3 separate regions of the Homo sapiens genome follow, and all the other regions are linked to region 1. The links are contacts of gene promoters, found by promoter capture Hi-C in blood cells and fetal thymus (Javierre and others, 2016). All regions are on one chromosome and are shown on one strand. Each heading gives the region's core, a stretch centred on a gene start or on the middle of the fragment in contact. The rest is flanking DNA. Distances are from core to core; before and after follow the strand shown. Region 1 holds the start of BGN (biglycan). Region 2 has its middle 10 kb from the start of PNMA5. Region 3 has its middle 28 kb from the start of PNMA3.

Region 1 (4,416 bases), core at 1,096-3,595:
CAAGCCCCCATCCAGGAACATGCCTGGCTGAGACCTGAGGGTGAGGTCGGTGCAGGGCCGGACTGCAGCGCCGCCTGGCTCCCCTGTGTCTCCCCACACCCCCCCGCACGTGTGCTCTTCCTTCCACCGGCAACTTCCCTCTTCCCTACTGGTCTGCTCCAGGTCACCTCCTCCAGGTAGCCCTCCCGAGCCTCTGGCACTGTGCATGGCCCTGCGCCCCCACGGTATTCAGAGCTGTTTCACCCCCACTGGGACTCCTGGAGGCTGAGGCCCTGAGTGACAGCTCCTGGGTTCTCAGTCCCCAAGCAGTGCAGGAAGGTACTGGGTACCAGCACCTCGGGCAGCAGGCATGCCTTGAGTGGGTTTCTCCTTTTTTCTGAAACGGCTTTACTGAGAGTGGCTGTGCTTACCACACGATTTGCGCATTGAGCACGTACAAGGCAAGGGCTTTTATATGGTCTATTCACAGAACTGTGCAACCATCACTCAGTCGATTGTAGAACATTTTCATCACCTCAAAAAGAAAACCCATACCTTTAGGTACCACCCCTCTAGCACCCACTGCCCACAAATCCGCTTTCTGTCCCCACAGATGAGCCTAGTGTGGACATTTCAAATGAATGGAACCAGAGGCTCTGCGGCCTTTTGCGACTGGCTGCTGTCACTGAGCGGAATGTTTCCAAATGCTTCTCTCTCCACCCAGACTGCTAGTCAGGCTTCGCTGCCTGTCCCGCTCTCTACCGACATATTTCTCCACGAATGAGTTGGCAGTGGGGGAGGGAAAGAGGGTGGGACAGAGATGAGACCAGGCTGCCAAGAGTCGGACGCTGAGGCTGGGCAAAAGGTAAAACACACAAACCTGCCGAAAGACAAGCCATCTCCTTTGTCTGGAAAGGGCATATGTGGTCTCCAATCTCCTCATTCCAACCATGAAATCAAGAGAGAACCAGGGTTACCAGCCTGGCCCCTGGTTTCCCACGTCTCTCTTCTCCCTGGCCCAGTCTAGAAGCTTCTTGCAGGCAGGTACCACAGTTTGGTCAAGGTGCCATGCGTCCCAGGTCCTAGCCAGGCCCTGGGCTGCCGCTGGTGAACAGGAAGGGGGTCTGTGCCCTGCCATGCCCCCAGGTAGAGCTCCCCTGGGAGCATCCTCCCTGGCCTGGGACCTCCCAGACCCCACCCCCCGGTTGAGTGATGGCACTGCCAGGGGTTGAAGACCCTCAGCCCTCGACGTTGTCCTCTCTCCATTGGATGCCGCCTCTCTCTAGCCACCCCTCTCTCCCTCTCTGCCCCTTCGAGCTTTTTCTCTCAATATGCAATTTTCTCTTTTGGTCTTCCGCACTCTTGGCCCCCAGTTCTATTGCAGATCTGTTTCTCACTCCATCTAAACTCTTACCCCTGTGTCTCAGGAGCTGCTCTTGCTGAGGGAAGAAGGGGACACTACGGGACAGGGGGGCAGTGTCGTACTAAGGACCTGGGCTCTAGCCACTGGAGGAACTGGACTCATTTGGGCCCTCAGGAAGCGGCTGAGTCTTGGTGGGGTAACCCGGTTAGCCCCCGTAAGTGACCAGCACAGGGCTGAGCCCAGAGGAAGTGGCCACCCACAGAGTGGTTCTCATGTCCGAGGGGACCTGCAGGGATTGAGCAAGAAGACTGACTCGCTGGATCCTTCGTCTCTGAATCAGTTCAGGGCAGGCAAGCTGGGGAGCCCCCTGCCCCGTCCTGCCACCACCAGCCGGATCGGGCCCTCTTTTTAAGGGAAGAAAGTCTGGAGTGGAAGGGAGGGCACAGGGCGCCAGGAGCCTACATGAAGTCCTTCCAGAAATCCACAACAGCTACCTCTCTGATCCTGGAGAAACCACCTCCTTGCTTAGGCCCAAGCAGGTTCCTGGCAGGCTCAGGACCAAATTCCAGGGGCCACTCATGGGCCTAGCAGCCCAAGGCCGCCTCCCCCTCGTCTTTCTTCCATCTCTCTTTCCTCTGCCTGGCGAGATGCCAGCCAGCACCTCAGTGTCCCCATCTGGGCAGTGGAAAGTTTGACTCTCTGGGTCCTTGTTTGAGTGAGTGCGAGTGTGTCCGTTCCTTTGCTGTCTGCCCCAGGCGGGGGAGGGGGGGGGAGGTGGTGGGGGCGAGGGGGCGGGGGCTCAGCTAGTCCAGCCGTCTACAAGAAAATTGCTCCCTTTGAAGCTGCCAGGGGGGCCGGGAAGCCTGCCCCCTCCTGCTCGCCCGCCCTCTCCGCCCCACCAGCCCCCTCCCTCCTTTCCTCCCTCCCCGCCCTCTCCCCGCTGTCCCCTCCCCGTCGGCCCGCCTGCCCAGCCTTTAGCCTCCCGCCCGCCGCCTCTGTCTCCCTCTCTCCACAAACTGCCCAGGAGTGAGTAGCTGCTTTCGGTCCGCCGGACACACCGGACAGATAGACGTGCGGACGGCCCACCACCCCAGCCCGCCAACTAGTCAGCCTGCGCCTGGCGCCTCCCCTCTCCAGGTAGGGCTGGCTTCAAGCTGCCTCCTCAGCAACCCAGAGATGCCCCTGGCTCTGCTGCCTCCGCTGTCCCAAGCCCTGGTCCTGCTGTCCCCAGTGCCGCGAGGGTGTCCACAGATTTCCCCGGTGCTCTCTGTAGGCTGCTGATCCACGCCCCTTCATCGCCACCCTGCGGCCCCCTTGGTCCCTGTCAGGCTTCTGCCTCGTCTCGCCGCCCTCCAGGCACCTTTCCCTCACCCCTTCCTCTCCCTCTCCCTTCTGACCTTGCTCTGCTTCATCCACCTCTTGTCTCTCTGCCTCCCGCTCGGGGTCCGTCTTCTTGGCTACCACCCTAGAGCGTGGCTGGGTGACTGGTACCCCAGCTTTGCCAATGGCCCTGTTTCATCATTGCAAGTCCCAGGCGCATGCTCCACTCCCTCAGCCTCGCTCTGCCCAGGCGCCTCCTTGCTCCAGGGCTTGGCGCCTGGCCCGGGTTGGGTCGGATCGGGGAGGACCGCCCAGCGCCCACCGAGCTCAGCACCCAGGAGCAGTCCTCCGCTGCACTGCCTGAGGCCAGTCCTTGGCATGGGCTGAAAGACTTAGTTTCCCAGGCACACCCCAGGCACCCTGCCCAGATGTTCCTCGCTCGCTCACCCCCAGGTTAATGCTCTGCCTCTACATCCTCTGTGAGAAGTCTGGGTCCTGGGAGCCCTGGCTGCAAGGGCCCTGACTGGGGGTGCCTGGGTGGCTCAGCCCTGTCTGTTTCCAGGACCCCCTTGGACTGGGACTCAGAATGGGTGTGGAGGGGAAGGAGAGAAAATCAGGCAACTGTGCCATGCTCCCCAGGGCGGACCTGGCTTGGGGTCCCAGAGGGGCCTGCCAAGGGACCCAGGAGAGGGAGCGAGAGAGTGCCCTGGAAGGCCCACGGAGGGGAGCGCCCCCTCACTGCTCCATGGGCGGGGCTGGGTGCCTGAGCGCCTGCTGAGCAGAGCAGGGGGCCCAGGGATCTGCAGGGCACAGGGTACATCAGTCTCCAGTGGTCTGTCTTGGTGGGCAGGCCTCTCTCCTGCTGTCCTGGCTGCCAGACTGCTCAGGTCCCATCCTCAGGGGGTCCTGTTTCTGGGCCCTCGCCCCTCCCTGGCCTGCCAGCTCTCTGCCCTATAGCAACTAATTGGAACTGAGACAAGCTGGAGATGCTCAGCCCCCCTGCCCCCGTGCCAGAAAGGCTCCCGGGGACCAGCGCCCAGGGGTGCGGGTGAGCACCTCCTGGTGACACCCAGCCGCCGGTGCCAGCCGCACCCCAGGAGAGCTGGTGTATGAGCATGGATGTCTTGGTGCGGAGCATGCCCATGTATGGCCACTGTGGGCCAGCATGGTGAGCCTTTGAGGGCAAGCCCGTGTGGGTATATTGAAAGGAAGATGCAGGGCTGCCTCCAAGCCACCAGGGCTGGGCGGTGGGAGCAGGTTGCGAGCCAGGGAGCAGAGAGGGCTCCCATGGCAAGCTGGCCAGCTGTGGGTGGCAGCCCTGGCCTCCCTGGCCCACCTTCAAGCCCCAAGGACCCGTACGGCAGTGGGCATTAACCCTACCAACGCATAGATGGGGAGTCTGGGAAAGGAAGGGGGGTGTTTCCAAGGCAAGAATGAGTTTCCTGTCTTTAGCAACATTCCAGAGTCACTCAAACAAAGCTATAGCGTGTCCCTTCCAGTGACAGCGCCAAGTCCCCAGAGGAGGGGTTTGTAATGAGTTCACACTTGACAGTTAGCACTCAGAGCCTTCAGCAAGGGCTTCTGAGTCCTTGCCACCCCGTATAGAGGTGGGATGAGGACCTCCCCACCTGCCGTCTCCTGTGCTTCCCGGGCCCACCCCCCACCCCCCACCCCCCAGCATCTCCAGCCTGCCCGGGAGTCACATGTCCTCGGCCCACAGAATCCCCAGCACACGCCCCACCCACAGGCCTAGC
Region 2 (4,416 bases), core at 796-3,295, 490 kb before region 1:
GGTAGACACCCCTGGAAACAAGAAAGGCCTCCAGAAAGGCGATCCATAGATGGGGCCCAAGCATTGTGCATATTGTAAACAAGAGGACCATTGGAAAAGGACTTCCTGAGTTTAAAAAGGCAATCCCAGGGGAAAGAAGAAAAGGCTTTACTTTTGTCAGAGGTATCCAAGAGAGTGATGGGGTCTCAGGGGGTACAATAGGTGGATGAGGCTGCATCCCCATCTCCTGCCTGGAACCCTGGGTAACTCTTTGGTGGGAAAAAGACAAGTTGATTTCTTGATTGATATTGGAGCCACGTACTCCTTCCTTGACATGGTTTGGCTCTGTGTCCCCACCTAAATCTCATCTTGTAGCTCCCATATTTCCCATGTGTTGTGGGAAGGACCTGGTGGGAAATAATTGAATCATGGGGTTTTCCCTGCACAAGCTCTCTCTCTCTTTGCCTGCTGCCATCTCTTTGCCTGCTGCCATCCATGTAAGACGTGACTTGCTCCTCTTTGCCTTCTGCCATGATTGTGAGGCTTCCCCAGCCATGTGCAATAGTAAATCCATTAAACCTCTTTCTTTTGTAAATTGCCCAGTCTTGGGTATGTCTTCATCAGCAGCATGAAAACAGACTAATACAGTCCTAAATATCAAAATAACAAAATTGTCACCCAATACTATGACTATCATGGGGTGTCTGGAACACTTATGAAAAAGTCCTTTTTACAACCTATGGACTACCAAGTGGGCACAGTCAAACTAAAGCATAGTTTCTTGTACATGCCAGAATGCCCAATCCCTTCACTGGGACAGGACTTGTTAACTAAGTTAATTGCCACAGTAACCTTTGCTTTGGGAAAATTGAGGTGCCACCAGAACAAGCTTGTGCACTCCCAAATGCCCTTTATGACCACAGAGCAGAAAAACACACCATCAATATTATGGAGAACATCTTAAAGCAGATAAGCCCAGATGCTTGGGCTGATGGGAGGCTGGGAAGGGCTAAGACTGCTTGTGTTAAGGCCATTCTTGCATTGCTATAAAGAAATACCTGAGACTAGGTATTTATAAAGAAATGAGCTTTAATGGGCTCAGTGTTCTGCAGGTTGTACAGGAAGCATAGTGCTGGCATTTGCTCAGCTTCTGGGGAGGCCTCAGGGAGCTTTTACTCATGATGGAAGGCAAAGCAGGAGCAGGCACATCATATGGCAAAAGCAGGAGCAAGAGAGAGATGGAGGAGAGAGGGTGCCACACAATTTTAAACAACCAGATCTTGTGAGAACTCACTATCATGAGGACAGCACCAAGCCATGAGAGATCCACCCCCATGATCCAAACCTTTCCCATCAGGCCCAACCTTCAACATTGGGGATTGTATCTCAACATGAGATTTGGAGGGCATGTCCAAACTATGTCATTCTCCCCTGCCCCCACAAATCTCATGTCCTTCTCATACTGTGAAATACAATAATCTCATCCCAATAGTCCTCCAAAGTCTTAACACATTCCAGCATTAATGAAACTGCCTTTGCAAAATTATAACTGAAGAAATTATGACAGTGAAAGAAATCAGACCTAACCAACCCCATATTGCTTCTAACCTTTGTCCTTGTTCATTACTGGGCATAGGCCAAACTAACTTTGGGAAGGAATTCAATTTATGGTTTGACTCTGAAACAAAATTGATAACAGACATTTTCCAAAAAGACCCCATTCTTGCCTGGGGACAAGTATGCCTTTGCAGGACTAACAAATTAGATAGAAGATTAGAAATTACATTTTAGGGGACAGGTAGCCTCTGGCTACTAGAGTCTGAACCTCCCCAAATTGCTCCTGAGGATAACATCAATGCTGTAAAACCTAAGATCAGTGCTTGAGGTATTTTGCAGCCCCTGCGCTTGATGGATCAGCTGACACCACCTAGACCAGTAATCTGGCTCAATCAGTTCTTCCATCCCATCCAGGAATAGAAAACAGCAAGAAAAACTCACTTCAACTCTCCATGATTCCATGTCCATCCTGACCAATCAGCACTTCCCACTTCTCAAGCCCCTACCCACCAAATTATCTTTAAAAACTCTGATCCCCGAATAGTCGGGGAGACTTATTTGAGTAATAATAAAACTTTAGTCTCCTGCATAGCTGGCTCTGTGTGAATTACTTTCTCCATTGCAATTCCCCTGTCTTGATAAATAAGCTGTGTCTAGGCAGCAGGCAAGGTGAACCCCTTGGGCGGTTGCACAACTCAAAAGTCCCAAGTCCCCAGTCCAAAGTCTTATCTGGAAATAAGTTCTTTCCACCTAGAAGCCTGTAAAATCAAAATGGGTTATTTACTTCCAAGATACAATGGAGATACAAGCACTGGGTAAACATTCTCATTCCAAAAGAAAGGTGCTACAGGCGCCACCCAAGTCTGAAACTCAGCAGGGCAGTCATTGAATCTTAAAACTTCAAAACAGTCTCCTTTGACTCCATGTCTCACATCCAGGGCATGCTTCTGCAGGGGATGGGCTCCCAGGGCCTTGGGCAGCTCTGACCCTGTGGCTTTGCAGGGCTCAGCTTCTGAGCCTGCTCTCACAAGCTGGCATTGAGTACCTGTAACTTTTCCTGGTGCAGAGTGCAAGCTGCTAGTGGATCTACCATTCTGGCATTTGGAGGACAGTGAACTCTTCCCACAGCTCCACTACCCAGTGCCCCATTGGAGACTCTGTGGGCGGTGCTTAAACCCTACATTTTCCCCCTGCACTGCCCTAGTGGAGGTTCTCTGTGAGGGCTCCACCCCTGCAGGAAGTGTCTGGCTGGAGACCCAGGCTTTTCCATGCATCTTCTGAAATCTAAGCGGAGGCTGTCAAGCCTTCTTCACCCTTATACTCTGTACACCTGCAGGCTTAACACCATGTTGAAACTGCCAAGGCTTATGGCTTGTGCCCTCTGGAGTGGAGGCCCAAACTGTACTTGGGCCCATTTGAGCTGGAGCTAGAGCCAGAGCAGCTGGGATGCAAGGAGCAGTGTCACAAGGCTGAGCAGGGCAGTGGCATCCCAGGCCTGACCCTTGAAACCATTCTTCCCTCCTAAGCCTTTTGGCCTGTGATGGGAGGGGCTGCCTCAGAGATCTCCGAAATGCCTTCAAGGTCTTTCCCCCATTGTCTTGGCTATCAGGACATTGTTTGCTTTTAATCAGGCTAATATCTCTAGAAAGTGGTTACACCACAGCCTTCTTGGATTCTTCCCCTGAAAAAGCTTTTTCTTTCTTTGCCAGATGGCTAGGCTGCAAATTTTCCAAACTTTATGCTCTGCTTCTTCTATAAATATAATTCCCAACTTTAAGTTATTTCTTTGTTCCTGCATCTGCGCATAGGCTGTTACAAGCAGTTAGACCACCTCTTGAACACTTTGATGCGTAAGAATTTTCTCTGTCAGATACCCTAGGTTGTCACTCTTAAGTTCAAACTTCCACAGATCCCTAGGGCATGACAGAATACAGCCAAGTTCTTTGCTAAGGCATTACAAGGATGACCTTTGCTTCAGTTACCAAAAAGTTCCTCATTTCCATTTGAGACTTTGTCAGCCTGGACTTCACTATCCATATCACTATCAGTATTTTTGTTACCACCATCTAGCCAGTCCCTAAGAATTTCCAAGATTTCTTGGAACTTTTTTCCTGTCTTCTTCTGAGACCTCCAAACCCTTCCAACCTCTGCCTGTTACCCAGCTCCAAAGCTGCTTCCACATTTTCAGATATCTATAGCAATGCCCAACTCCTCAGTACCAATTTTCTGTGTTAGACCATTGTTGTGTTGCTACAAAGAAATACTGGACACTGGGTAATTTATAAAGAAAATAGGTTTAATTGGCTCACAGTTCTGCATGCTGTACAGGAAGCATGGTGTCAGCATCCACTTGGCTTCTGGGGAGGCCTCAGGCAGCTTTAATTCATGTTTGAAGCTAAAGTGGAAGCAGGTGAGAGCAGGAGCAAGAGAGAGAGAGAGCAGGGAAGGTGCCACACACTTCTAAACATCCAGGTCTTGTGAGAACTTACTCACTATCACAAAACAGCACCAAGCCATGAGGATTCCACCCCATGACCCAAACACCTCCCACCAGGCCCCACCTCCAACACTGGGGATTACATCTCAACATGAGATTTGTAGGGGACATCCAAACTATATCCCTGCTATACCAGTATAGATGAAGCTAAAACCAGAAGCAAAAACTCCAAACTCAAAACTATATCCCCTAAAGGAACAGATTAAAAGGGGGATTTGGCCTTTAATCATTGCCTTTCCAGAGTTCCAGCTCATCAGGCCATGTAGCTCTCCATACAATACTCCCATCTTACCTATTAAAAAGCTAAATAGTAGAGGAGGTTACCTAGTTGTTACAAACCCTTACACCTTGCTGACTATCTTGTCAGGAGACTTCTGTTAGTT
Region 3 (4,416 bases), core at 1,151-3,650, 470 kb before region 1:
TTGAAGTTATATACCTCAGGGAAACTATAGTACCTAACCAAGGAAAGAGTGTACTCTAATCCCTATGGTTCTTTGAAGCACAATGCCTGACATGCAACTTTTAAAAACCCAGAACATGTGAAGTAACAGGGAAATGTGACCCATGATCGACAGTAATTGGCATGTCATCACTTCTCTCATGTTCCATTTTCCAAAGCAAGTCTCTAGGCCAGCCTAGATTCCAGAGGTAGGGAAACTGACTCTAACTTGTGATAGAAGGAGTTTTGAAATCATATTACAAATGGAGAACCAGGGACATTAAAAAATCAATCCCAACACTTTGGGAGGTCAAGGCAGGCCAATCACGAGGTCAGGAGATCGAGACCATCCTGACTAACACGGTGAAAACCTGTCTCTACTAAAAATGCAAAAAATTAGCTAGGCGTGGTGGCACGCACCTGTAGTCCCAGCTACTCGGGAGGCTGAGGCAGGAGAATCGCTTGAACCCAGGAGGCGGAGCTTGCAGTGAGCCGAAATCACGCCACTGCACTCCAGCCTGGGTGACAGAGCAAGACTCCATCTCTCTCTCTCTCTCTCCCTCCCTCTCTCCCTCTCTCTCTCTACTCTCTCTCTCTCTCTCTATATATATATAGAGAGAGATTTATATATATATTTTTATATACGTATATATATGTGTGTGTATATATATGTGTATATATATGTGTATATGTGTGTATATGTATATGTATATATATGTGTGTATATATATGTGTATATATATGTGTATATGTGTGTATATGTATATGTATATATATGTGTGTATATATATGTGTATATATATGTGTATATGTGTGTATATGTATATGTATATATGTGTGTATATATATATAAATCTACTACAAGAGTTCACAGGCAAGTCCCTCACCTACACTTTGTCACATGTGGTCTGCTTCTGCCCCTCGTACCCTTACTCTCTTACTCTTCCTGTTGTTCCTATTGGTGGCTGGGGAAGTGACGTGAGGGCAGTGGTGCCTGTGCAGCAGTGCTCAAGGATGCATCAAGGGTTCACTCTCAGGAAACTCCCAAAGCTGCTGGCCAGATGGGTAGCCAGTCCTAGACATGGCAGAGACTGGCTGAGTTTCCCAAATGCCTCTCTTGACCAAGGCCTGCAGAAACAGAAAGTCATATTTTCACATTGGCCAATCCTTGCATTCCTCAGGAAAATGGTTCCAATGTTCCCACTCACATCCTGCTTTTTCTCAGAGCTCAGACCTGGGACCACTGAGCTGGCTGCCACAACCAGCCTCCAATACCCACACCATTCTTGGCCACACCACCCTTTTTCATTCCTGTGCCCTTGTGGTTATTTACTGAAGGCTTACCGTGTGTCTAATAGAAGGTAAAGCTCCATGACTCCCCTGCAAGAAAAATGTTCTTATTGCTCATTTACAGATGAGAAACAGAGATGTTCAGTGGTTTGTGCAAAGCCACCCAGCTGCTAGGTGAAGCCAGCTTTGCCTGCTTCCAAAGGCCGTACACACTCTTTCCAATGCAATGGCTTCCTAGGTGGTGAAGGCTGGCTTTGTAGCCTAAGAACTATGATGAGGCTCTTGAGTCAGGAACAGCTAGCCTCTTCCTGTTGTGGAGATTCCTGCAATGAGGAGGTAGGCCTGTGAATGTAGTGATTTGGGGGACCTAGTCTGGAGTCCTAGTACCTGGCTGTCCACCAACTCCCAGCTTCCAGACGCTGCCCCTAAGCATAAGCTTCCTCTCTGCCAGTTTCCAATCCCCTTTCTCTCTCAACACTTCCACTAGGCCATTTTGATGGTTGGGCCTGTTGCCCCCGGAGGCACATCAAGCCCTTACCGCGCAGGTCCCGATCCCAGGGCAACACGGATGCCTCCCCCTGTTTAGCTATTTGCCTCCCACAGAGACTCTGAGATTTTTCTCCCTCATCTATCTGAGGCTTCTGGGAGAAGTTGGAAGCCCACGTGCCCTTAGTACAGCTGGCCTGAGATATCCCTGCCCTGTGCAGTCCCAGATGGGCTGCTGGGGCGCGATCTTCCACCTTCCCATTCCAGGGCCTCAAGGCGGCCTCCAGAGTGGGCTCCACAGCCTGAAGGTGGCATTTCCCCGTGGGTGGTTGCAGTGTCTGCAGACAGTGAGCAGGCACCAGCGGGACCCCAGAGTGGCTGAGGGCACACTGGGCAGGAGCCAGATCGCTGTCCCCCCAGGCAGTAGGTGCGACAGCGGGTCCTGGTCTGGAGCCTGAGGAGAGGGGAGGAGGGTCTCCTTGCTGCAGGAGTCTGGGTGGGGTGAGCTCCTGGCTGCAGGGCACCTCTGGCTACAGAAGGGGACGATGGGAGAGAGAGGGGCTCTGGCTGTGGGGGAAGGGGACTCCTGGCTGCTGATGTGGGAGGCGTGGGAGGGGGTTGCCAGGTTGCAGGGAGGATGGCATTAGGGAGAGGGCTCCTGGTCAAGTGCTGGGAAAAAGAGGAGGTGGGCACATCCAGCTGCAGGGTTGCACATGATGGTTGGAGGGGCTCCAGCTGTAAGTTTTGTGATCAGGGGCTGTTCACCAGGTGAAAGAGGCGCTTCCTGCTGTGGAGGTGGGGGGTGCAGTGAAGGACTCTGAGCTGCAGCAGTAGGGGTGGGGGAGCATGGGCTGTGACACTGGGCAGGGGAGATGCTTCAGGCCCTGCATTTGGGAGTGGCTGGTCTCTGGCTGTGCGGTGGGGGTGGGCTGACTGGCAGCAACGTCCCTCTCTCCCCTTTGCACTCACAGGCTGCGTCAGAGACTGCAACAGTCAGCACACATTCCTGTCTGATCAGGCTCCCTCCCTCAAGTCCTCTGCGATGGCTCTGGCGATGCTTCGGGACTGGTGCAGGAGGATGGGTGTGAACGCAGAGCGCTCTCTGCTCATCCTGGATATCCCTGACGACTGCGAGGAACATGAGTTCCAGGAGGCCGTGCGGGCTGCCCTGTCGCCCCTGGGCAGGTACCGAGTGCTCATCAAGGTCTTCAGAAAGGAGCTCGGGGCCAGGGCAGCCTTGGTGGAATTCGCTGAGGGTTTAAACCAAAGCTTGATTCCCCGCCAAATAGCAGGCAAAGGGGGACCCTGGAAAGTGATCTCCCTGCCCCAGGCCCTTGATGCTGAGTTTCAGGATATACCCAGTTTCCCTGCATAGCCCCAGGGGCAAGCAGTGGCCAGAGGTGCAGGTGAGGCAGGAGCTGCAGGTGAGGCAGGATCTGTAGGTGAGGCAGGAGGTGTGAATGAGGAAAGATCTGCAGGTGAGGCAGGAGCTGCAGGTGAGGAAGAAGAGGCAGGTGATGGAGGAGCTGCAGGTGCAGCAGGAGCCATAGGTGAAACAGGAGCTGTGGGTAAGGGTGAGGCAGAAGCCACAGGTGAGGGAGGATCTGCAAGTGAGGCAGAAGGTGCAGGTGAGGGAGGAGCTGGAGATGAGTTGAGAGTTGCAGAAGAGGCAAGAGAGTCAGATGAGGGAGCCGCAGGTGATACAGGACCTGCAGGTGAGGCAGGAGCTGTGGGTGAGGCAGGAGCTGTGGGTGAGGCAGGAGCTGCGGGTGAGGCAGGAGCTGTGGGTGAGGCAAGAGGGACAAATGTAACAAGAGCCTGGGTCCAGCCTCGGCGCTGCACCCTGCAGGCTGTGCTGGAAAACAGGGCCTACCAGGAACTGAGACCCTTTTCAGGGAGGGAGCAGCCAGGCTGCGAGGAAGAGTCCTTTGAGAGCTGGATGGAGCACGCCAAGGATATGCTGCAGCTGTGGTACCATGCGTCGGAAAGGGAGAGGAAGAGATGGCTGCTGGAGAGCTTGGGTGGCCCAGCCCTGGACGTTGTGAGCGGCCTCCTAGAGGAAGATCCCAACTTGGCGGCACTGGACTGCCAGGCGCTGCTGGACTGCTGGGCAGCGGTGCTGGGGCAGGCGTTTGGAAACCGGGACCCTCGAATGACTTCCAGGCTGAAGTTCCTGACCTGAACGCAGGGGCCCTTTGCCTTCCTGGTATGCCTGGAAGGCCTGCTGCAGATGGCCCTGGAGAAGGGGGCCGTCTGCCCGGCCCTGGCCAACCACCTGTGACTGCGGTAGGTGCAGCCTCAGGCCTGCCCTGGCGAAGCACTCCAGAATACCCTGAGGGGGATGCACTGGAGAGGAGGCCGCCCTACTTCCTGGGGCTGCTTCAGCTCATCCAGGAGATGGAGGCGTGGGCGGCCTCCCCAGTGAGGAGCCAGCATGTTGTGGCCTGGCCAGTGGCCACAGTGGAAAGTGAAGATCCAGTTGCCGCCCAGGCAGCTCCTGCCTGTGGAGATGCTGCTCAGGCCTCCTCAGCCCAGGAAGACGCCAGCCAGGCTGACCCTGGCGTGGAAGATGCTGCTGAGACTGCTCCTGCCACCAAAGAGGCCGCCAGGAGCACCCCTGCCA

What was found. The method cuts DNA at HindIII sites, captures the fragments that hold promoters and counts their contacts. A CHiCAGO score of 5 or more calls a contact.
Region 2: a fragment that was not itself captured here is called in contact with the fragment with the promoter of BGN in region 1 in 2 of 17 cell types (M0 macrophages and total CD8 T cells); the score reaches 6.5 in M0 macrophages.
Region 3: a fragment that was not itself captured here is called in contact with the fragment with the promoter of BGN in region 1 in 1 of 17 cell types (M0 macrophages); the score reaches 5.4 in M0 macrophages.

What each region holds. Positions count from the first base shown.
Region 1 is chrX:153,492,635-153,497,050 of GRCh38, forward strand. BGN (biglycan) reads left to right here and starts at 2,346. Exons shown (of 8, transcript NM_001711.6): 1 at 2,346-2,479. It also overlaps a transcript of HAUS7 not described here. The HindIII fragment of the contact is 11,109 bases long and covers 1,008-4,416 here.
Region 2 is chrX:153,001,926-153,006,341 of GRCh38, forward strand. No RefSeq gene overlaps it. Among named protein-coding and RNA genes, the nearest start is that of PNMA5, 10 kb to the left of the region's middle. The HindIII fragment of the contact is 2,358 bases long and covers 867-3,224 here.
Region 3 is chrX:153,025,950-153,030,365 of GRCh38, forward strand. It overlaps the pseudogene LOC112268308. Among named protein-coding and RNA genes, the nearest start is that of PNMA3, 28 kb to the right of the region's middle. The HindIII fragment of the contact is 1,319 bases long and covers 1,742-3,060 here.